Regions from separate parts of the Homo sapiens genome. Here all the other regions are linked to region 4. Evidence: promoter capture Hi-C in human tissues and cell types (Jung and others, 2019). All regions are on one chromosome and are shown on one strand. Each heading gives the region's core, a stretch centred on a gene start or on the middle of the fragment in contact. The rest is flanking DNA. Distances are from core to core; before and after follow the strand shown. Region 1 has its middle 80 kb from the start of LINC02565. Region 2 holds the start of WDR7-OT1 (WDR7 overlapping transcript 1). Region 3 overlaps LINC-ROR (long intergenic non-protein coding RNA, regulator of reprogramming). Region 4 holds the start of BOD1L2 (biorientation of chromosomes in cell division 1 like 2).

Evidence for each region. Contacts are between HindIII fragments. The study calls those that stand out against the background at their distance.
Region 1: a contact is called between a fragment that was not itself captured here and the fragment with the promoter of BOD1L2 in region 4, in 8 of the 25 tissues and cell types used here (H1 embryonic stem cells, IMR-90 fibroblasts, adrenal gland and 5 more).
Region 2: a fragment that was not itself captured here is called in contact with the fragment with the promoter of BOD1L2 in region 4 in 3 of the 25 tissues and cell types used here (neural progenitor cells, pancreas and thymus).
Region 3: a fragment that was not itself captured here is called in contact with the fragment with the promoter of BOD1L2 in region 4 in 6 of the 25 tissues and cell types used here (H1 embryonic stem cells, aorta, hippocampus and 3 more).

The regions. Positions count from the first base shown.
Region 1 is chr18:57,247,816-57,253,577 of GRCh38, reverse strand. No RefSeq gene overlaps it. Among named protein-coding and RNA genes, the nearest start is that of LINC02565, 80 kb to the right of the region's middle. The HindIII fragment of the contact is 7,453 bases long and covers 1-5,762 here.
Region 2 is chr18:57,036,980-57,042,836 of GRCh38, reverse strand. It overlaps WDR7-OT1 (WDR7 overlapping transcript 1), which reads right to left and starts at 2,858. Exons shown (of 3, transcript XR_001753461.2): 1 at 1,219-2,858. The HindIII fragment of the contact is 3,837 bases long and covers 261-4,097 here.
Region 3 is chr18:57,061,830-57,068,172 of GRCh38, reverse strand. The region is part of intron 2 of LINC-ROR (long intergenic non-protein coding RNA, regulator of reprogramming); the gene reads left to right. Among named protein-coding and RNA genes, the nearest start is that of LINC-ROR, 7.1 kb to the left of the region's middle. RefSeq lists enhancers at 2,960-3,495, 5,594-6,343. The HindIII fragment of the contact is 5,495 bases long and covers 1,680-6,343 here.
Region 4 is chr18:57,145,326-57,151,709 of GRCh38, reverse strand. BOD1L2 (biorientation of chromosomes in cell division 1 like 2) reads right to left here and starts at 4,623. Exons shown (of 1, transcript NM_001257964.2): 1 at 1,300-4,623. The coding sequence starts at 4,397. The coding sequence ends at 3,879. RefSeq lists an enhancer at 3,859-4,454. The HindIII fragment of the contact is 20,182 bases long and covers 1-6,191 here.

The sequences.
Region 1 (5,762 bases), core at 2,092-4,591, 100 kb before region 4:
GATGGTCTCTGTAAAACAAAAGTCGGGGCTGGTGCTTGTACTTGGGTTTTGCACTGAAAATGGTCCTAGACAATAAGCTGATGGGAGTCCCCAGGGTAGATCAGGATGGACCCAGGAGACTGAGGTGCCTTCAGTACCAACCTGGTGGTCATGGATCCCTTTCACCCTCTTGGTTGGGAAGTGCTGGCCACTTGGCGCAGCATTTAGACTCTGAAAATGCATGAAAGATGCAGAAGATAGAGCCCGCGCTGGACTTGGTGCTCATGAGAGTCATAGCCAAGGTCTCCTCTTGGAAGCCATGCTGAAGTAATTGGGGCAACTTCTCTCTCAGGCTGAGTAAAAGTGCAGATCACTTCCCCATTGGAGTCATGGCTTCGGTGACAACAATGGCAGCCTGTCTTCATGGAGGGAGAGGTGGGCTGCAGACACATCGCCCCTGGCACTGTCTCCAGGGGGATGGGAACTGGGTCCCTTGGAGATTCCTGGAACAGAATGCTGAGTGATACTTTGCTGTGGCATCAGAAACAGCAACTAGGACCCACAGGTGAAGACAAGGGCTGTAAAAGGACTTTCAAATAAGCAAGTGTCTGGGGGCCCCGCTGGCTCACCAAGAGATGGCTCAACAACTCTGCTGCCCATATCCCCATCCCAGAGCTATCTCCTCAAACTCCCTTCCCTCAGTCTACATGAGGAAACTACTGAGCAGGGAGAGGCAGAGGAGAGAGAGGAACTAGCAGGGATTTGGAGTTTATTGATCCAGTGGACTGCTGTGATTCCCTCCTCCACGTGAGAGATAGAGAGGGATGGGGCTTTCAGAGAATCCCTCATGGAGATCGGCAATGCCTACAGGAAGGGGAGGCCAACATCTCATTTTCTCATTGCTCATGCTGAAGCCATAGACTCACTGATCTTCCTGAGTATAGCTGAGGAGGGGAGAAAAGGCTTGGAGAGAGACAGCAGGTGGGCAGAGAGAGAAGGCAGCAGCGCGGTGCCCTGAACCCCCATGGTTTGGTGAGGAAAGGGGCATGAGTTGCATATGAGCTGAGCAGACTTGATGGGAGATAGCCGGGCTTGAGTTCTTTACCAGCTCAAAACAGGAGCTGGCAGTGTGGGTGCCCAGATCAGAGACCCACTTTGCCCAACCCAGAACTCCCTCCATGATTTCCACATGTGCCCAACAAGAGGCCTATCACACAGGGGGTGTAATTAGAGAGTCAGTGTCAGTAAAGAGAAGACCCTGAGGTGGAAGGATTGCTTGAGGCCAGGAGTTCAAGACCAGCCTTGGTATCATAGGGAAACCCTGTCTGCATAAGATTAATTTAAAAAATTAGCTGAGTGTGGTGGTGTGTGCCTGTAATCCTAGCTATTCAGGAGGCTGAGGTGGGAGGATCACTTGAGTCCAGGAGTTGGAGGCTGCAGTGAGCTGTGATTGTGCCACTGCACTCCAACCTGGGTGACAGAGTGAGACCCTGTCTCTAAAAAGAAAACAAAGGAGAAACAGAGAGAGAAAAAGAGAAAGAGAGAGAAGACCATGAACCATGACAACTCCAGGTAAGTGAGACACATTTTTCTCTGCCCTAACAGCTAAAGTAGGGGGAGGAAAAATAAATAATTGTGTAATCCCCTCCCATCCAAGTCCAAAATACCCAGGGGAGGAGAGAGTATGAGTGTTAAATTGGATAGAACATTGACCTGGATTAGTATGGAGTAGATAAGTCTTTTCCAGTGAAAGAAATCAGGGGGCTACCCTGGGTTAGCTGTAAGGGAGTGACGGAGGCCGGTGGGCAGGGCTGGGCAGAGGGAGGGCTTGGGCTATGGCGCAGTTCCACTGATGAACTTGCAGGGTGAATGATGTCCTCCAAAATTCATATGTTAAAGTCCTAGCCCCCAGTACCTCAGAATGTGACCTTATTTGGAAATAGAGATGTTGCAGCTGTCATTATTAGGATCAGGTCATACCAGGGTAGGGTGGGCCCCTAATCTGACATGAGTGGCATCCTTATAAAAGAACACCGTGTGAAGATTGGAGTTATGCTGCTATAAGTTGATGAGCTACCAAAAGCCAGAAGCCAGGGAGGCTGGGAACACATCCTTCCCTAGCACCTTCAAAGGGAGGGAGGCCCTCTTGACACCTTAATTGCAGACTTCTGTCCCCCAGAACTGTGAGACAATACCTTTATGTTGTTCTAAGTCACCCAGATAGTGGCACTTTCTTATGGCAGCCCAGGAAACCAATATGACCAGTCCCATGAGGAGCTCTGAGGGGGCTGGACTGACCCTTTGGGGTGTCTCAGTTGAGTCCAGGGGTCTGTGAAATTCCTCACTGGCCAGTCGTTGGATGTGGACTGCTCCTTACATTCGAGGGGCATAAGCTGGGAGGCAGCTCCCTCTGATCGAGGCTTCTTTCTGGGGAGCTGCTCAACTGTGAGCCATCAGCAGCCAACACTCCCTGCCAAGATTGAGCCTAGGCTGCAAGAAGTGAGGCATCACCCCAGATGCAAAACTTCAGATGGTGCCACATCTAGCAATCAAGATTAATAATAGTTTGATGCAAAGTTATATAAAAATTAATGCAACCATCCATGATGAATAAACATCTTTCAAAATTTTAAGTAAAACAGGAGCAGTAGTACTAATGTTTCCCTTTGCTGTGGGCTGTAATATGGCTTGGCATGGCATCCCCTGAAGCTGGGGATAGGAGTGCCTTGAGCTTGAAGGGGACAGCTGAGTGGCACACCACAATGTTCACTACACCCAGGAAGAAAGCAAGCCTGGTTTAGGACCTAGGCAGTATGATCCCACAGCCTGAATGCTTAACCACTGCCCTCTACTACCTGGAAGCATCTAGAGGAGGTATTTTAAGGGAAAGAAATGATGGAAAGAACAGAGGCACACACTCAGGAAAAGCGGGAAAGCTCGTAAAGAGTGTTGCGGCACAAAATCAGATTTACTTGTTGCTCTGTGAAATGTCAATGCCTACTTGCTTGGGAGGCAAGCAGCTGGGAGCTGGGTCACAGCGTTCTGGCATCTGTTCTACGGGCATGTAGACCCTTCTAGACTCAGCTCAGGAGAGGTGAGTGTCTGCCTTGGCCACTGAGGAGGTTACGGTGCTGCCATTGGCACAGTGAAATGAAGGTCATGATGTCAAGGACAAGAGTGTTGGGCTGTTCCTCTCTTGCCATCAATCCAGGCTTTTGAGTGATGTAGGGCTCCCGCCTGGACATGTTCCCAGCTGCTTAAATGACAAATCCGGTAGGTTTTATGTCCTCAGTGCTGGGTTTTTGAACTTGAGTCCGATAGGCTCCAGACTGGGATGGATGGATGGACGATCTCTTCACATTGACCCCTACCCTTCATCCCAAAGGCGGCCTCCCCAAGGCCACCTGAGTAATTCACTCCTCTCCTTCCAGGCCTTGATTTCTGCTCCTCCCCCATCCACTGACAGAACCTAAAACAAGAGACAACCCTCCCTTGCTGAACTGTTATAAATTCCCAGCTTAGCAGATTTCAGGCTGATTGCCTGGGCTCAGTTGTCTCTGTAAATGAGGCTTCTCACTCATGATGGATGGCCCCGCTCTCTCTGAGCACACATTTTACCTGACTGGAAGCACCATGGCTAACTATTTAACAATATTGTTTCTCAGCCAACTTCTTTGGATGGCATTGTCCCTGGGTTGATAATTTCTAATCAATAAAAATTGTCAGCAGGAACTAGGAACCCGCCTCACGGTGAATGACAGAGGATATGTCTTGGTTTTGAGCTCTGAGGGCCCCTTGCCTTCTGAATAAACATAACACCAAAGGTTATTCTGTGTTCTTCTCCGTCAAGCTTAAATTTAGCAAAATTAGGATATGAATTTTCCTTTATTCTCTGTGATCACAAATGTAATGTCAGAATTTTTTCCCAGAGAGCTTTTCACCCCACCTCTACTCCATGTCAAGGTTGTCAAAACCATAATTTATTCATATTTTTGACCTCCGGGGAGGACAATATCCAAAGGGTCAGGGAGTATTATTGGATGTCAGGATGGAAATTCACCGTGCTGGCTCCCTTTACAATGTTACATTTAATCAAGCCACACAAATGTGGCCGCTGTAATTACCCCTGAAGGGTTACCCCTCCTTATTAGGAATTACACAATTTTTATGCATTTCCCAACATCCTTAGTGTGGGAAACAGTTGGAGCCTGCTTGGTTTTCTTTGTAAGGAAGCAGAGGTCTGTGATTTCTGCCCCTCTTCTTGGGTCACGACGGTGACCTCCCACGAGCTGCTTTGAGGCCAGGACAGGGGTGAGGGGTCATGGAGCATCCTGCAGTGGGCTGGGCCATCTCCTTTGTGTGGCCCTTTGCCAGGCCACTCTGAGATCTGGCTTATCCTTGAAGGGCTCACGATGCAGCGCTTTTACCCAGAATGTCAAAGCCCAGACAACTCCTGAAGCTTAATGATTTTCTGAGAACTGTGCAGAGAGACCTGGGTTTAGGGGGAGGAACAATTAATCAATGCTAAATAATAACAATAGTTATTCTCTGATTCATGAATGGAATAAATCCTTCATCCCTGGCCCATAACAGATACAGTCCAGGCATGCACGGCAAAGCCTGTGAGCTCGTTAGAATTCTTGCCAAGCCGCATCTTGCACGTCTTCTAAAGCGTCCTGTTTTCCCGGTCATTTTAAACCACTTTAAAAAAGCTTTCATAAATGCCACAGTATTTTGATTGGTTTGTCCCCATCCTCCTTGAGGCAGCCTGTAGATAAGGTACTGGATCAATTCAGGCAGTGGGTAAGAATTAGGCTAAGGGCTTTGGAGCCAGGCAGACCTGTGTGTATACACTGGGTCCCATCACTTTCCTTCTATATAACTTTAATTGCATCACTTAACCTCACTGAGCCTCAATTTCCTGCTTTGCAAAATGAGGCCAGTCATTGTGCCTACCCCTGAGACTGCTGAGATGATGTAATATACTGAATATGAATTGAGGTGGGGAACATTTTATTTTCTTCGAAGTTGTTACAAGAGAGAGCCTCTGATGTGAAAAGAACACCTTGATTAGCTCACTTGGGGTTCAGCCCCCAGGGCCTGGGAATCAACTGTATCCATGCTTCAGAGGCAGACAGAGGCTGCACACAAAGTCTTATATGTCTTACATATGTATCAGTATAGGTCATTTGTATTGTGAGTTTATTTTTAAATTCAAATGCACCTGCTAAAGTTTCTGGCAGCTGAGGAGGGAGAAGCCACTCTCCCTGTTGCTTCCCATCTAGAGAGCACAGCAACAGTCTCTCCTGCACTGCCCTGTGCTTGCAATGCCCTCCCCTTATCCCGGCAGGTCTGAACCCCGCCGACCCTTCCAGGTCCATCTCAGATGCTGTTTCTCCATAAAGATTTATGTAATCCTACAGTGAGAGGGTGCCTCTCAGTTCGGCACACACACTGTAGCTGAAGCTGTCCTCTACTGTGGCACTTGCCACTTTTGAAGAGCACCCTGGCTGCACAGTGGGCCTGTGACATTCACAAGGAGTGTGCCCATGCCCAGGATCTTTGCCAGGGACTATGGCCATGCTGACCCCTCGATTTTGGACTTCTGGACTTAAGAACTGTGAGAAAATAAATTCCTGTTGTTTTAAGCCAGCCAGTTTGTGGTACTTTGTTACAGCAGCCACAGGAAACTAGGACAGCTGGTTCATGCTGAGATTGTGTGGTGACAGCCATACTTCCAGGGACTCTACCTGCTGGCCAGGGAGGATTCTTTGGGCGGCACT
Region 2 (5,857 bases), core at 930-3,429, 110 kb after region 4:
AACATACATGTGCATGTGTCTTTATGGTAGAATGATTTATAATCCTTTGGGTATATACCCAGTAATGGGATTGCTGGGTCAAATGGTATTTCTGGTTCTAGATCTTTGAGGAATCACCACACTGCCTTCCACAATGGTTGAACTAGTTTACAGTCCCACCAACAGTGTAAAAGTGTTCCTATTTCTCCACATCCTCTCCAGCATCTGTTGTTTCGTGACTTTTTAATGATCGCCATTCTAACTGGCATGAGATGGTATCTCATTGTGGTTTTGATTTTCATTTCTCTAAGTGATCATGAACTTTTTTTCATGTGTTTGTTGGCCACAGAAATGTCTTTTTTTGAGAAGTGCCAGACCACACTTTGAATGGTATGGCTGTAGCTCAGGAGTCAGTCACCAGTGTGGACTGAAAGTTTGTGTCCCCTCAAAATACATACATTAAAACCTAATCACCAAAGCAACAGTATTGGGAGATGGGAACATTGGGAGTTGATTAGGCCATGAGGGCAGAGCCCTAGTAAATGAGATTAGTGCCCTCATAAAAGAGGCCCCAGAGAGCTCCCTCACCCCTTCCACCATGTGAGGCCACAGCAGGAAGATGCATTCTGTGACCAGGAACTGGGCCCTCACCAGACACTGAACCTGCCCATGCCTTGATCTTGGACTCCCCAGCTTCCACAACTGTAAGGAATAAAGTTCTGTTGTTTATAAGCCACCCAGCTTATGGCAGTTTGCTATAGCAGCCAAAATGGACTAAGACAGCCACCTTGTCTGCTGAAGGGCCAGATAGTAAATATTTTAGGCTTTGTGGGCTAAGAGGCAAAATTGAGAATATTGCACAGAGAGAAAACAAATTTCCACACATTTTTTCTTGATGAAATTCAAAATATAATAATTGAATACATTTTTTTTTGGTAATTTTAGGAGTTCAGTAAGGGGAAAATCACCCTAAGCAGGTTTTCAACATGAGGAATGTAGACTCTACCCTTTTCTACCCAGACTCTTCTTTGTTATCTAATACCATATTTTACAAACAGCAAGAAATATAAGCCCCAGGAAGTGAAACAACAAGAATTGTTTCCAGTGCATTTCTGAGCCGGCAATGAAGCTTAGCCTTTGTCTTCAAGAAATAGATCCAATGTGACAGACACTGCAGCTTTGTATTTTTTGACTAAGTTATTAACCAATACATTTGAAGTAATTCAGCCTTCTACTCACCCTGTGGCTTGTCATGTGGGATGGTGTTCTGAGGGTTAACGTAAATACAGTTCGTAGAGGTGCGTCTCACTCCTGGAGCTGGTGTTCCTGACTGAGGGACTGCAAGTCTGAATAGTGTAAATGGAATCTGACTTCCCCACGGCAGCAATGCTATAATGTGGGATTATGTGAATGGGAATTTTCTGTGGAAGGATCCTACCTGCGAAGGGAACAGTAGCAGTGAAGGAATCAAGGTGTGAACATGGATGATGTTTTCCAAGAATGTGAGTATTCTGGACTGGCAAATGCCATTGGTCCCCCATCTCTCGCACTGGGGAACCCTGGGCTTCTGCCTCCTTCCTGACATTTCACTCACCAACTCCTCTAACTCCTGCCTCTTACATGTCCCTTGGCCCTTCCTTTTGGTGTCCATCACACCTGCAATAGTTTGAGTTCTCAGAATCTCTAGATGTGCAGCCATCCCTGGCCTCCCTGTCACAACGATCTCCATTTTCTAAACTATGATGCATCCTGCCACCAGGTTTAGCCAAGATATGGGATCATTGTTGCCCTGAAAATCATTGAGAACTCTCCAGACCTCTCAGGAAACAGCCTAGCTCCGTGTCACTGGCTACAAAGATCTTCATGCTGGCTTCAGCTCATGAGTTTGAATCACTTCATGCCATGTCACTGTACACTGTACAGTCTGTTTTCAAGGGTTGGCTGCAAGGGGCTCAGCCAGTGGGGAAGATGATTATATCATATGACAGGAGAAAGAGGTGGGTGTCTGCAGGGCTGGCTCCTCTAGAAGCCCAGTGATGTCACTGAGGATTTACCCCAGTAAGTTGGCTTGAGCCAAGGTGGGTTCCAACATAGGCCCAAAATGGCTTGTGGGTTCCCAGGTATCACAGATTCACACAGCTATGTCCACAGATAGAAACTTCTACGTGAATGTCTCTTTTCACTGGGGAGGAAAACCTTTCCCAAGAGCACCCCCCTCCCACCTCATGGGCCAGAATGGCACTGAAGGCCTTACTTATACCACTAGGCACTGCATGAGCTTGCTGGCTTGAATTAATCAAGCTTCCATTTCCAAGGCTGATAAACTCCAGCCTGAGCACATGGTCATTGGTGCAAAGAACAGAGCCAAGCCCAGGCTTAGAAGCATGGAATAAAGGGGAACATGGCTCTGGGTAAGGGACTGGCTACATCTGCTGCTCCCTGAAAACATCACCTGCCTTCACAGTTCCATGCCTTCAGTCACGTCTCCCCTTTGTCTGAATGTTCTTCCACCCTGGGAAACTCCTATTCATCTTTCAAGATTCAGCCATAATGCCACCACCGCTGCAGTGTGACTGTGTTGGGAAACTCCAAGTGGCAGAGAGCTGCAGGAAGCCTCTAGGCTCCAGCCAACAGCCTGCAAGGGCCTCCAGTGACAGCCAGCGAGAAAGTGAGGCCCCCAGTCCTACAAGCAGAAGAAATTGAATTCTGCCAACAATGACATGAACTTTGAAGCAAATTCTCTCCCTCACAAGCCTCAGATGGGACCATAGACCCAGCCAGCACCTTGATTGCAGCCTGTGAGAGATCTTGAGGCCAAGGCTCCTGGCTAAGCCTAGGCTGGATGCCTGGTTCCGAGAAGCTGTAATGCCATAAATATGTGTGTGTGTGCATGCGCGTGTGTGCATGCGCATGTGTGCATGCAAGTGTGTGTGTGCGTGTGTGTGTGTACGTGTGTGTGTGTGTGTTTTGAGACAGAGTCTCACTCTGTCGCCTAGGCTGGAGTGCAGTGGTGCCATCTTCGTTCACTGCAACCTCCGCCTCCCAGGTTCAAGTGATTCTCCTGCCTCAGCCTCCCAAGTAGGTAGGATTATGGGTGTGTACCACCACACTCAGCTAATTTTTGTATTTTTAGTAGAGATGGGGTCTCACCATATTGGCCAGGCTAGTCTTGAACTCCTGACCTCAAGTGATCTGCCTGCCTCAGCCTCTCAAGGTGCTGGGATTACAAGCATGAGCCACTGCACCCGGGCAAATGTGTTTTAAGAAGTTTGTGCTAATATTGTTACTGTATAGATAATTAACAAACCCCGTTTCCCCCAACCCACTCCAACCCATTCTCCACATTGCAGCTGAGTGGTGTTTTCTAGCTAAATTAAATCACACCTTTCAACTCACAATTTTTGGATGGTTTTTGAGTCCCCTAAGAGTGCCCTTGACCATTGTCTACAGGATTCAATACTGTCCAGATGCCTCACTTGTGGCCACACCTGGCTCATTACCTGCTGTCACTCTCCCTTCTGCCTCAGGGACCTCACACGTGCTATTTTCTTCTCTAGAAGCTCTTCCCGCTTCCAACTGCTCCACCAACATCCAGCTCCTTATCTTCCTTCAGAGACCCCGGGTTGACCTTGCCCACTCCTTCCCTGGGCTATTGGGTCTCAGCTGCCCTTGTTTCCGTCACTGCTCATGTTACAATTTGTGGCTGGCTTAGTCCCCACCCCAGCCCACTAGACTGTGAGCCCATAAGGGCAGGTGTCACAACTGTTGCCTTCCCCACTACAATCCCAGCACCTAGTTCTCTGCCTGATGCATGGTAGATGTTCACTAGATATTTACCAGATGAATGAATGGGCTTAATTCTCATCGGAATCTACCAGAATGTATATGTTCCAGTGAATGTTTATCTTAATGTCTCCTGACTCTACAGTCAGAGGAGACATTCCCAAGGCTGATGCTCATTTCTTTTCTCTGTCCCCTCCTCCTTTGTGCTCCCATTGTATGCTTCAGGCTTGAATCACATGTCCTGGGGAGGAAGGCTGTGGACTAGAGCTGGAAGAGGAAAAAAAAGGAATGAAATCAGGGATGGATGGAGCTCAGGTGGCTGGGATCCAGGGAGGGACGGCTGAAGAAGGAAGCACTGAAGGAAGCAGACAGAGGCCTGGGATGCCAGGGAGGTGACCCAGAACCCAGTGCCTGTGTGCATAGTGCGTGTATCTGGCTATGCACAACCATTGAGGATTGCTCCAAGTTAAACCATCAGAAGGAGGGGCTGCGGGCGTGTGTACACTATGGATAATGGGCCTCACAACATCCAGCGCATTAGCTAGATAGCCTTTGAGATGCATAAAGGATGTGAGTGCCTGCACTGTATTAATTTCACCGTTGCTAGAAATGCCTGGAAAATAATAGGCATTCAATAAGTCACTGTGGAATAAATAAATGAAGATTGAATTTTGAGGTCCTTGGTTTTTTATTGAGGTCAATATGAGAATAAAGCATGTCTCTTTCGCTACTATAAAGCTGGCCTTGATGATAGCGTCCATTGATGGAGAGGAAAGAGCACTTTGGATTTTAATCCCAACTCTACCACTTTACTAGCTGTGTGACCTTAGGCCAGTTACTTAACCTGTCAGTGTATCAGTTTTCTAACCTATACAATGTGGGCTAATTCAGAATTATTGAGAGACTTAAGTGAAATTACATATGTCAAATGCCTCACATGGGCTCCAAGCACATCTGGATCCTCAATCCCTTCACTTGTTAGAAAAGAGACCTGAGATGTGTGTCACAGCCTGGAGCCTGCTGCAGGGCCAAAGCTGAGGCTAATGGATGTGAGTATGGTGGCATATTATGGTTTGCTCTAGTAGGTTCTGATATATTCCAATATTTCCCAGAACGAGATCATCAGGGATGGGGAGCCAAGACTATGTAAACCCGATATGTGACAATAGAGACTGGAACAGCCCCTGTCCTGTCAGGGGATGCTCTTTGCTGATTCTGGCCAAGTGGAGAGAGTATGTCTTGTAATACTTCTCTGTTCAAGTCACCTGGGAGGCAAACCATTTTTTTAATCTTAAGTTTCGGAAGTCTGTTTTATATGTATCAGTGACTCTCAAGTTATTAAAGATTGCCTCTCTGGAGAAGAATATCTAGAGGAAGAGGAGGTGTCTGCAAAAGCAAACGGGAGAAGTCAGAAAGTTGTGGCCCCATGAAGGCAAGGAGAGCGGGCAGTGCCAGGGACTGGCCAGCAGCACTAAATGCTACTGCGTAATCAATGAAAACCAGGGCCAATTGCTGTCAATCAACTTCCACTTTCCCAAAGAAAGTATCCATTGTCTACAAGAAAACAAACAAACAAACAAACAAAAAACTGGTTGCTGAGTTGTAAAATCACTAATTTGTGAATAGTCCTGCTATTCACAAATGAGAATCAACATAGTTCCAGTACTTGTAAAATTTGGCACAATGGCCATACATCCAAAGGGAAAACACAGGGGCTTACATGAACCAAAAACCTCTTCTATTCTCCCCACACTTCCTCCTGCTTCTAAAGACTGTGGCCGGATAGTCCCTGGCGATTCCCTCCTCATCTCCTGTTCCACGAGGGCCACTGGAAACACAGAGGAAACTGGGCCTTGGCAACAGAGTCTGGGACTCAAAAATATTAGATTTCCCTTTTATTTTTGGTGCAATCTTGGTCATTTGTCTATGTGACCTGCAGTTATTTTCATTTCTAAAAGGGAGCTAATTCTTGGCTTTCAGAATGAAGAATTAAGAAAAATAATGAATGCACCTACTATGGTACCTGGTGCACAATAAGTCCTCAGAAATATTAGTTCCCTTCCAGCTTTCCTCTTTACTTTTTAAAACTGAGCAT
Region 3 (6,343 bases), core at 3,178-5,677, 83 kb after region 4:
CTCGAAGATTTGTCCCTGCCCAGGACTGGCAAATTGACTTTACTTACATGCCCCGAGTCAGATAACTAAAATACCTCTTAGTCTAGGGTAGACATTTCCACTGGATAGGTAGAGTCCTTTCCTACAGGGTCTGAGAAGGCCACCGTGGTCATTTATTTCCTTCTGTCAGACAGAATTCCTTGGTTGGCCTTCTCACCTCTATACAGTCTGATAACAGACCAACCTTTTCTAGTCAAATCACCCAAGCAGTTTCTCAGGCTCTTGATATTCAGTGGGACCTTCATATCCCTTACCATCCTCAATCTTCAAGAAAAGTAGAACGGACTAATGGTCTTTTAAAGACACACCTCACCAAGCTCAGCCTCCAACTTAAAAAGGATTGGACAGTGCTTTTACCTCTTGCCCTTCTCAGAATTAGAGCCTGTCCTCGAGATGCTACAGGGTACAGTCCATTTGAACTTCTATATGGACGCACTTTCTTGCTTGGCCCCAACCTCATCTCAGACACCAGCCCTCTAGGTGACTATCTTCCAGTCCTCCAACAGGCTAGACAGGAAATTCGCCAGGCTGCTAATCTTCACTTGCCTACTCCAGATCCCCAGCCATATGAAGACACCCTAGCTGGATGATCAGTTCTTATTAAGAATCTGACCCCTCAAACTCTACAACCTGGATGGACCGGACCCTACGTAGTCATCTATAGTACCCCAACTGCCGTCCGCCTGCAGGATCCTCCCCACTGGGTTCACCATTCCAGAATAAAGCTGTGTCCATCGGACAGCCAACCTAATCCCTCCTCTTCCTCCTGGAAGTCACAAGTACTCTCCCCTACTTCCCTTAAACTCACTCGTATTTCTGAAGAACAGTAATAACCCTTATAAGCCTAACCATCCCTTCATTCTATTAGGTCTGTTCGTCCTTACCCTACTTTTTGCAACAGGGCTTTATGAAGTCACCCCACCACTTAGGCTGAGCCCCAAAAACCTTGTCATCCCTACTATTTTCTGTCTAGTCTTACTCCTATTCTCTGTTCTCAACTACTTATAAATGCCCTACTCTTGTTTACACTGCTGGTTTACACTGTTTCTTCAAGCCATCACAGCTGATATCTCTTGGTGCTATCCCCAAACTGCCACTCTTAATTCCCTCTCAGAGTGGGTAGATGATCTTTGCTGGCAGGGCACCCTCCAATACTTCCACCCTGATGAAGTTCTATTCTTTACTTTTATACTCACTCTTATTCTCATTCCCATTCTCATGCCACCCTTTACCTCTCCCCAGCTATCTCCACCACACTATCAACCTTACCCATTCTCTCCTAGCAGCTTCTAATCCCTCCTTAGTGACCAACTGCTGGCTTTGCATTTCCCTTTCTTCCAGTGCCTACATAGCTGTCCCCGCCTTACAGACAGACTGGGCAACATCTCCTGTCTCCTTACACCTCCGAACTTCCTTTAACAGCCCTCACCTTTACCCTCCTAAAGAACTCATTTACTTTCTAGACAGGTCCAGCAAGACTTCCCCAGACATTTCACATCAGCAAGCTGCCGCCCTCCTCCGCACTTATTTAAAAAACCTTTCTCTTTATACTCTACTCCCCCCATATTTGGACCTCTCACAACACAAACTACTATTCCTGTGGCCGCTCCTTTATGTATCTCTCGGCAAAGACCCACTGGAATTCCCCTAGGTAATATTTTACCTTCTCGATGTTCCTTTACTCTTCATCTCCGAAGCCCAACTACACACATCACTGAAACAATTGGAGCCTTCCAGCTCCATATTACAGACAAGCCCTCTATCAATACTGACAAACTTAAAAACATTAGCAGTAATTATTGCTTAGGAACACACTTACGCTGTATTTCACTCCATCCTTGGCTACCTTCCACTTGCTCATCAGACTCTCCTCCCAAGTCCTCTTCTTGTTTACTTATACCCAGTCCCGAAAATAACAGTGAAAGGTTGCTCGTGGATAGTCAACGTTTTCTCATACACCATGAAAATCGAACCTCCTCCTCTATGCAGTTACCCCATCAGTCCCCATTACAACCTCTGACGGCTGCCGCCCTAGCTGGATCCCTAGGAGTCTGGGTACAAGACACCCCTTTCAGCACTCCTCACCTTTTTACTTTACATCTCCAGTTTTGCCTTGCACAAGGTCTCTTCTTCCTCTGTGGATCCTCTACCTACATGTGTCTACCTGCTAATTGGACAGGCACATGCACACTAGTTTTCCTTACCCCCAAAATTCAATTTGCAAATGGGACCGAAGAGCTCCCTGTTCCCCTCATGACACCGACATGACAAAAAAGAGTTATTCCACTAATTCCCTTGATGGTTGGTTTAGGACTTTCTGCCTCCACTATTGCTCTCGGTACTGGAATAGCAGGCATTTCAACCTCTGTCACGACCTTCCGTAGCCTGTCTAATGACTTCTCTGCTAGCATCACAGACATATCACAAACTTTATCAGTCCTCCAGGCCCAAGTTGACTCTTTAGCTGCAGTTGTCCTCCAAAACTGCCGAGGCCTTGACTTACTCACTGTTGAAAAAGGAGGATTCTGTATATTCTTAAATGAAGAGTGTTGTTTTTACCTAAATCAATCTGGCCTGGTGTATGACAACATAAAAAAACTCAAGGATAGAGCCCAAAAACTTGCCAACCAAGCAAGTAATTACACTGAATCCCCTTGGGCACTCTCTAATTGGATGTCCTGGGTCCTCCCAATTCTTAGTTCTTTAATACCCATTTTTCTCCTTCTTTTATTCGGACCTCGTATCTTCCATTTAGTTTCTCAATTCATCCAAAACCGTATCCAGGCCATCACCAATCATTCTATATGACAAATGTTTCTTCTAACAACCCCACAATATCACCCCTTACCACAAGATCTCCCTTCAGCTTAATCTCTCCCACTCTAGGTTCCCATGCCGCCCCAATCCCGCTCGAAGCAGCCCTGAGAAACATCGCCCATTCTCTCTCTCCACACCACCCCCCAAAAATTTTCGCTGCCCCAACACTTCAACACTATTTTGTTTCATTTTTCTTATTAATATAAGAAGGCAGGAATGTCAGGCCTCTGAGCCCAAGCCAAGCCATCGCATCCCCTGTGACTTGCACGCATATGCCCAGATGGCCTGAAGTAACTGAAGAATCACAAAAGAAGTGAAAATGCCCTGCCCCGCCTTAACTGATGACATTCCACCACAAAAGAAGTGTAAATGGCCGGTCCTTCCCTTAAGTGATGACATTACCTTGTGAAAGTCCTTTTCCTGGCTCATCCTGGCTCAAAAAGCACCCCCACTGAGCCCTTGCGACCCCCCACTCCTGCCCACCAGAGAACAAACCCCCTTTGACTGTAATTTTCCTTTACCTGCCCAAATCTTATAAAACAGCCCCACCCCTATCTCCCTTCGCTGACTGTCTTTTTGGACTCAGCCCGCCTGCACCCAGGTGAAATAAACAGCCATGTTGCTCACACAAAGCCTGTTTGGTGGTCTCTTCACACGGACGCGCATGAAAGGCTTTCCCTAATGTCAAAGATTTGGAGGAAAATCACCCAAGATGGCTCCAAGAACCACACACATCCAAGCAAGCCAACTGGAAGTGCAGACACCCCTGCAGACACGACCGTGTCCTCATCTGTGTTCCAGTCATTGGGACTACGAGAGCTCTCAGGAAGATGAACAAGAAACAACATCTAAATAAGTAATAGTGGTAGGGCAATTGGAGCCTCCTCATTCTCCAGCTTCCTCCCCCAGAGCTCATCGCCTGACCCCCAACTTTCCCCATTTTCCAAGTCAGTGCACTTGGTGGGGGCCCATCAGGCCAGTGCTCCCTGATCACATCCCGTCGTTGCTTGGCCAGGGAACTGTTGTCAATTTAGAGAAGGTGGAATTCATTTCTTTACATTCACATCCGATCTTATCAAAGGGGCTGCCATGAGGGGCAGAGCTGCTGGTTTTGTTCTTTCAGCTTCCTCTCTCCCCCTTCCCCCACTCTGTGGGTCTCTCTCCCTCTCCCCCTTAGCCTCCAAGCCTGAGTCAGAGATCTCCTCTCTGAAGTTAATGGCTGTAAGAAGATTTCATTTTATTATATCTTCAACAGTCCTGTTATTTTAAATTTGCCTTTGACAAACTCAGAGCCCTGGAATCACCATTTAGGAAACAAAGCTTAACCGGGAGCTTTTAAGAAGGGTATTTTCCCTTCCATTTTAGCAGGCTAGTAAAAATCAATAATGCTGTGTTCCCATCTGTAGACCACCTGACATCTCATGAATGGTCAATGGAGCCTGCTCTGACTGCAGAAGCCACTGAGAGATGCACTGGCCAGCCTGGCATGCAAGCTGGACACTCGCCTTGCCTTTCTGCCAATTTCAGGGCTTCACTCACCCCAGAAGGTGCTCCTGGGTGCCTTCCTTGGGAGGAAGGCTGGGTTTTTCCTGACAGAGTTTACAGTGGCCAAATTGAGGATGGGAAAATTGTGGGATGGGGAAGAGAGATGTTATCTGAGCTCAGAGATGATCAAACCCTTTGTCCCCCAAAGGATTCGTTAAATAGGACAAGCCTAGGATGGGGATTTGGAGGGTATTATTCCAGTGCAATTAGCCATGAGCTCCAGGAGGCAAGAAGCTGTCAATTGGTCCTCACTGATGCCAAAAGGTTTGGGACCCCAAACCCTGCCCGGATGCTTGTCAACCCCTTGATAGGCTGAAGCAGGGGCAACAGCAAAACTCAGCCCTGGTGCAGGACACAACGCCCTCTGCCTCCATGTGTGCCCCAAGGCATGCGCTTCTCCCACTGCCCAGAGGCATCTAAATGTGTCCTTGCAGGACAGCCAGTGTGGCCTTTCCCACAGCACATGTACAGAAACAAATGTGACTTCCAAACAATGGAGCCAAAATTTAGAAGCCACTGTGACTGCAGGACCCATGAGAAACAGGACTCCGTGGAAAACAGCCAAGACAAGGCAGGGAACCATGAAACAGCCAACCCCCCTCGCACCACCCTGAGGCCTTTTCAAAGACACAGACTGAAACATATTGTCACTCCTAAGCCAAGTTTAACTTCTAAAGAAATCTTTTCAAGATGTTCAAAGCGCCAAATGCAGTTTAGCTCTAAGCACTACCATCTGCCACTGCAGGCAAGCCCATCCCGTAATCCCTGGCTCGGGCAGAGGCCCGCGGAGCAGGGTTGCCTGCTGTGCCCACTGGAGAATGCACATTGGGTAGCGAGTGACAAAGGGCCCGCTGGGGCTCTGCCGGCTCCTGGGCAGCGGCACATGGGGTGCAGCAGGGTGTGGAAGCAGTTGAGGAGACAGCACATCTGTGCAGACATAGCACACCTGGGCTGAAGCCAGGTCTCAAAGTGACACCCAGAGCCCCTGTAGTCATTGTGAGTAGGGAGGGAAAACTCAAGGTCCACTAGCGAAGCTTGGAATTCCTTTGCCTCTAGAATCTCAGGTGCAAATAAATGGACACATATTTGATTTCCAAATGGAAACTCATCTTGCATTGGTTTTTGTTTCTCTCTTTTTTTTTCTGTTTATTTTTTTCTGTTCTGGAAAATGCCATCATGAGTTGGCATGAAATTAAACAGCTGCCCATTTTAATGGGAGAACTAATACTCTTTGTGAGCTATGCCTCATCCACCATCTCAACTCCAACTTTGTATATCCTGAGTGCAGGAAATTCAAGACAGGCCAGAAGGTCTGTTACACTGCGGCCAGGAGCACAGCACTGGCACATCACAGAGACTCAGAGCCAGAGAAGGAAGAGATGCAGGGGCCAGGGCCCCTCTCAGTGGAGGGTGAAGGGGCTCAGGGGTGAACTCAGGGTTAAGGGAGATCGGGGAGGCCCAAAGGATCAGAGTGGAGTGGAAGGAGGCGAAGTTAGCCAGGAAACAAGATGACCACGAGGACCTCAGATGTGCCCTCATCCTCTGAAATCCCCTGGAGCCCTCAGACCCAGAAACAGGAGATTGGCTTGGTTTGGGGTTGGGGTTTCGTTTTTATTTTCTCTGGTGCCTGACCGGAGTCTGGGTGATAGCCTTTAAAACACCTTGAAATCTGTAGCCACCACTTCAGCCAAACGCCCAGCCCGCCATGAAAGCATCTAGAAGCACAGCGAAATGGCGCACAAGGAGGCTCCAAATTCTTCCTCCCTTCACCTTTCCCTTTCCTGCAGGCCCCCTTGCACCCACTCCATCCCTGACCCTGCTCAGGGTTAGTAAACCTGGGGCTCTAGGTGGTGGCCCCAGCAGGCCCAGCTCCCTGGGGGCCATGTGTCCATCTGTGAACTGTGCAAAGGGCCTGTGGGGAACATACTGCTCCCATGGGCTG
Region 4 (6,384 bases), core at 3,374-5,873:
TTCAATCAGTACCACCCTCTGGTTAACCTTGATGCTCACTCAAGTTTGAGAAGTCCTCAACCTCAGGTGCACCCTGGTTTCCTGCATGGGGAACCATTCAAATCAGAGTGTGAAGATTCTCCAACCACTTGCTCCCTGCCGCCAGCCACTCCTGCCATTCCCAACCCTCTCTCCTGCGCCTTCCTTTGGCCTTGCCTTTTGGGGGCACCATCCCAGCTTAGCCTATCCTTTCTTTCCAGGTGCTACTCACATCTCTCCTCTTCAAAGACCCCAAAGACACTTCAGTCCTAGGAAACACTCCCTGCTATGAAGCCACATGTACTCACCTCTGTAACTCTCATTCTACACTGGCCTGCCTATCTTAGATACTTATTTTCCCAAGCCTAGAAGTGCCTGGGGTGCAGGGTCCTTGCCCTCCAAGTTGCCAGGAGGTGGGCCCAGAAATCATTTCCTGCAAAGGAGATCCCAGAGCACGTGTGTGAATCAAAAAGGAAGCCTGGGAGGGGAGCTGGCCTCCCAGTCTCCGCAGATTGTCCTGCTGGCACATGGCCCACAGGCAGGCCCTCCCCTGCAGGCCCGCATGTTATTCCCCACGTGGATTAGAGGCTGAACACAAACAGAATACAAAAGACAAAAGACAAGGAGCAGCGTTGCTGTCAGAGTCTATAAAAGTCTTGGAAGTGACAGCCGAGCTCTTGCCTGCTGCTGCTGCCCTGAAATCCAGAAAGAATCAATTTCAGACCCAGGGCCAAATGGTGCCCCAGGGGGCGTGCCTGTGACAGGTGCTGACTCCGCCCAGACCCCAGGACCCACCCAGCCCAGAGATCTGAGTGGGGGAGGAGGAAGGGGGAATGGAAGAGTCACCCTGCAGCTTAAAAAGGAAACACGCACATCTCTCTGTCTCTTTTTCAGTCTCTCTGCCCCTGTTTCTCTCTCTCTGTATCTGCTTCTCTGCCTCTTTCTGTCTCTGTTTGTCTATATCTTTGTCTCTGTCTCTCTCCCTCCCTTTTTCTCTGTTTCTTCTTTGTCTCTGTATTTCTGTTTCTCTGTCTCTTTCCCTCTGTCTGTCTCTCTCTGTCGTGCTCTTTCTATCTCACTGGTGTCTACTGCTGTATTCCTTCCCTGAAACTCTCTTTACTCATTATTAGGATTACAACTAAAATCATTTTCTTTCTTGCTTCATGAAACTAAACTGTGACTCTGGGGATAGTGACTGTATCGCCTACCCCTTTGGACTCCAAGTCTTCCCAAAACATAGACATTTTCAATAAATACTTGTAGTTCATTGATAAGAATGTATAGAATTCCAGAAATTACATTTATTTATCCTTCTGGATTGCAAGAAGGGAATTATTTAGCAGGGACCAGTGGGCAGGCATGCACGCACGCACGTAATGAGCTCTCTCAAGTCACGGTAGTTTGATTTATTTACATATTCATTTTCAGAATACAGCAGTGTCCATCGCATAGGTTAGCATTTTCCATTTGCCAAACTCATGGTGGGAACGGGAAGCATTCAGGCTATGGTTGGCAGATTTGGCAAACTAAAGCATGGGGCCCCAGTAAATTTGAATTTCAAATAAACAACAAATAACTTTTTAATACAAGTATGTTTCAAATATTGCACGGTCCATGCCCTAGGAGAGTATCTGTTGTTTCTCTGAAATTCACATTTGCTGAGCAACCTGTATTTTATCTGGCAACCTGTCTCAGGACAATTCAAGTAGAAAAGGAGAATAGAGAACTGGTAAAGGAAAAAAAAAACTTTAAAAGTTGTATTACACTTTATTACGTTATTTTTAAAAAGAAGAAGGAGAACAAACCCCAAACCAAAAATCACTTCCGCAACACATTTCTTAAAAGCAGAAATTAGGTTCCTTTTATGTTAGTGCAAAGATAGGTGCCAAGCTGGGGTCTCAGATGGAGTGATTTTAAATCTCAGAAAGAGCTTAGCTGTTTTTGTAAAAAGGAAAGTTGGCAAGTGATTAGTGCCGATGTGGCCCAGCTGCTCTTTTGTACTTCGAAAGAAACAATTAAAATGGCTGGGACATTAAACTTTAAAGAGCTGGGTTGTTCATATTCAGAAGCTAATTTTAAAAAGAGCCTGGTACCTGGGAAAGGAAGGGACATTTTCAGAAAGGACATGGTCTTCTACCTTCTGGACTCTAAATTTTGAAGAATCATTTAAAATAGCTCATAGGTAAACATTACAGATAAAATACCTCCAGGGATAAGAAAGCTCTTTCTTGCTTAGACATGTAGACACTAGATGCAAAATTAATTTTTGTTCACTTTTTAGATGATAAATACTGCCATCTGAGAAATTAAATGTTGGAAAAGACAAATCCAGAACTGGTTTCTTTCTACAAATTGCTGAGCTCCTGTGATGTGCTAGGTCCTGGGGTTAAGGAAAAGAAATGAACAAAGCAAATCCCTGCCCTGGAGGAAGCTCACATTTAAGTGGGGATGACAGATCTGTAAGCAAAGACAGTTCACTGTGGTGAGGTGGTGTGGCTAAAAGCATGGTTAAAAGGGTTAAAAGTGAGGGCTCTGTGCTCAATACAGGCTCAGCCCCAGCCCCACCACTTAGGCAGTGTCTGAGCTTTGGTTTCTACATTTATAAATGGGAATAAAAATGGGAATAAAGATACGATTTCTTCAATTAGATCATGAGGACTTACTACGGTAAGCGAAGTTAAGCGTTTAGTACACTGCCAGCTGTAGAGCAATAGAGCAAGTGCTTCGTCAGACCTAGCTACTATAGTAAGTGTGGTCATCCCTTATGAGATCTATGGGAGCACAGAGGAAGGAGTCTGTCACTCCTGCTTAGACGATGTGTGGCTCCTCAGGAGCTGAGTCTTAAAGGAGGGTAGGAGTGGTTGAGGGCATTCCCTTCACAGTGAGCAGAGGGAACACAGGGTGTCCAGGATAGTCATGGGCATGGTTGTCATATGAGAAATGACAGTGTACGGGGCAGCAGAGGTGACCAGGGGCCCCATTATCACGGGCCTCATAAACCATGCCAGGTGTCTGACCTTCTAGAAATATCAGAAAACTGACGGAGCTTAAAGAGGAAAAGGATGTAAATCTGCATTTCTTTTTTGTTGTTGCAGTTGAAAGATAAGCCATTTATTGACCATCCACTTTTCAAATAAAACACAAATGTGAGCATAACATAAACACACCCAAGACTCACTAGCCCCTGCAAGACAGGAAGCATTCTTGGACAGAGAGTCTGCAAATGAGTTTCCTTATACCTAATGTCTGAACTTCTCACTCATTCTAGGGTTTCATGCTTTGTTATCTCTTACAAAGGAAAGGAAACTGGCTAGAAGATTCATGTACAAGAAGGTCACAACTTCAAAGCTATCTGACACTAATGTTGTGTACAATCTAGTTTGCAACTCTGAGAGACAATATCAAATAAGTACTGTCAAATATTCCTCCCAGTTAACCTTTACTGTCATTGTTCTTTGAAATTGTCTTTGGGATTGGTTATGTTCTCTCGCTGTAGCTTTCGTTTATCTCAGAGCACAAACCCTAAAATCCATGTGCAGTCTCCATGTTCAAGTATAGATGTCTGTTTCAGGACAATCCTGGGTCGCGGTAGTGTTTCCCTCTCTGTAGTGTGTGTTTGGTGTCATGCCCTTGGAAAGGCTGGCCAAATGGCAGCGCAATGCAGGAGGGTGCCACGGTCAACTTTCTCTCTGGCGAACTTGCTTCCCTTTCAATCTGGTCACTGCTCATGGTCGAGGTGGAAATCTTGAGCTCAGTGATGAACTTGGCTTATCTTCAATCTGAAACTGCACTCTTATGTAACCGAATCCATTTCTTCACCAAAAATTAAATAGCGCTTTCAAAAGCTGTCAGGCATATTCTTAGGAAGTGTCCTGAGACGGAGCTGGAGGGTCCTGGCCTTCTGGCTCTGGAGGGAGTGCTGGCACAGCTGCTTCTTTCTGGGCCACCAGGAATTCATGAATTATTTGTTCTATTTGTGGCCTGAAGATGTGGTTTAGTTTTGGATCCACCACCTGAGAACTAATCCTGTCCACTCCAGCTTCTGACCTCCCTGACTGAACCACACTCTGCCTCAGACCATCGTGCAGTTGGTTGTCGTTTGCTGGAGGATTCCATTCCTGCTTGTCCAGATGTGTCGACACAAAATTATCCGCTTTCTGGCTCAGGTTTTGGTAAGCTGGCTTGGTGTCCACGTCAGCCTTGCAGTCCCGGCGGAAGCTGTCAAAAAGGCCCCTGCTCTTGAGCTGCCCCACGATGATAGCGATGAGCTGAGGGTCGCCAGGGGGCAACGAGGCCGGGTTGATGGGGCCGCCGCCCCCGCTGGCCCGGGTCGAGGCCGGGCCCGCACCGCCGCTGCCGCCGCCGCCACCGTCCGCCATGGCTGCGCACCGGGCCCACAAGGAAACCGATTATAGCTTCTTCTCCAGGACAGAAAGCCTAGAATGTGTAGAGGTGGCTAAGGGGGCGGTGAAGGAGGAGGGCCCCAAGGAGGCAGCGGCGGAGGTGACGGTGGTGGTGATGGCGGCGGGGCCGGTGGTTGGGGCGGCGGTGGGGGAGGCCAGCTCCAGACCGCGGAGGTTGTGGAAGACGCGGCAGCAACCGCCTGCTGGATTCCAAGCGCGCTCCAGATGGCGTCACCGTTGACCTTTGCATTGTGAGGCGGGAACCGTAATCTGCATTTCTTAAAAGATCTCTAAGAGGGAGGTGGGAAACAAATGCCAGTGGGCAAGGGCGAAACAGGGAGACAATTTCAGCAACCATTTCAGTGCCCTAAGAAGGAGATGGCGAGGAGTGAATGATCTTCGTGGCCTGGCAGGTGAAGAAGGTAACAGGGATACAAGAGATATTTAGGAGATAGACTCATCCCAGGGATTGGAGAACAACGGGGTGAGGGACGAGGGAAAGGAGAGGGTCAAGGATGACCCCCAGGCTTCTCACTTGGGCAGGTGCATGGAGGTGCCATTTACTAAATGGAGAACAGGTATAGAGGTGAGGATGGGAGACAGAGACATGATCGTGCATTCCATTTTTATTTACTAGTTTAAGATGGGTATGGGTTATTCAGATGCAGACATCTGCCTATGAAGTCCAAAGATACAAGGACTAGGGGCTGGGGAGAGACATCTAACTCACTGAAGGTAGAGACTATAGGTGGCAATTACAATGGAGAACTTAGAAGAGATAGAGGAACACCTGGAGAGCCCATGAGGGGGACTGAGAACAACACTAAAAAGATGGAGGGAAAACTACAAAAGCCTTGGATCATAGACCGCAAAAGGTACATTTCATGAAGGCCATGGGTGAAATGCCACACTATGTTCCACAAGGTGTCCATTGGCTTTGGTAGCCATTGATGAGCCTAGGGCAGATGTGTCAGTCAGAAGGAGGTCATTTCAACAAGAGAACTGTATTGCAACCAAGAGCCACAAAAGGCAACCACATCCAGCGCCATCCAATAGAGAAGTGCAGGTGCACAGAAAGAACCTTCTATCAATATTTCAAAAGAAAAGCAGATCCCTGATTTCACCCCAACACTCACTTCCCTGAATTAAAATGCCCCTGAGATGTAGACACCACATTGTTCTATAAGCCGTAACATAGCTTAAAGGTAGTATATTTCACAAAGAAAGTTTACACAACAGACTCTGTCAATAACCTCACCCCATAGCTTCTGACATACAAGTACAGATGCCTCAGATGGACGTATTCTGAATCTCATCCCACAGGAGACAGTGAACCTACCAAGACTTCACCACAGCAACCCCCTACCTATGCTCCTCACCATCCCCATGATCAGCTCGACAATTCAGTTCTGTATTTTTTTAAATTAATCAATATTTATTGAGGGACTAGTCGATGTGGCCCTGTGCTAAGCTTTATGGAGCTCTCCACGTGCCTGGCCCAGTCTAACACTCAATAAATGTTTGCTGTGGCTGTTGTTTAAGACAGGCAACATGGCCAGCCTTTGAAAAGCTTACAATCTAGTTGGAGAGGGGAGATGTTGACAGAGAAAACCATTGAGGACATACACAAGCTCCATGGGAACTTAGATGCAACATGCACACCTAGCATGGTGCCTGGAACAAAAGAGAGGCACCATTAATATTTGCAGAATAAAGATTGCATAGATGAAAGGAGGGTGTCCCTGTCATGTGTTGGAGAACACTGAAGCCTGGGAGAACGTGGCAGATGGAAGAAGACTTTGCAGAAGTGCTGGAGCCTGAACTGAGTCTTCATTTATCCCCTCACTGTGCATGAGCCCTTCAGATTGCACAGGAGTTCTCTTAGAATGCAATCACCTATGTGGATCCAAGATGAGATCTATGGGGTTCTCCAATCACAGCCTCACCCACAGAGGGACACTTA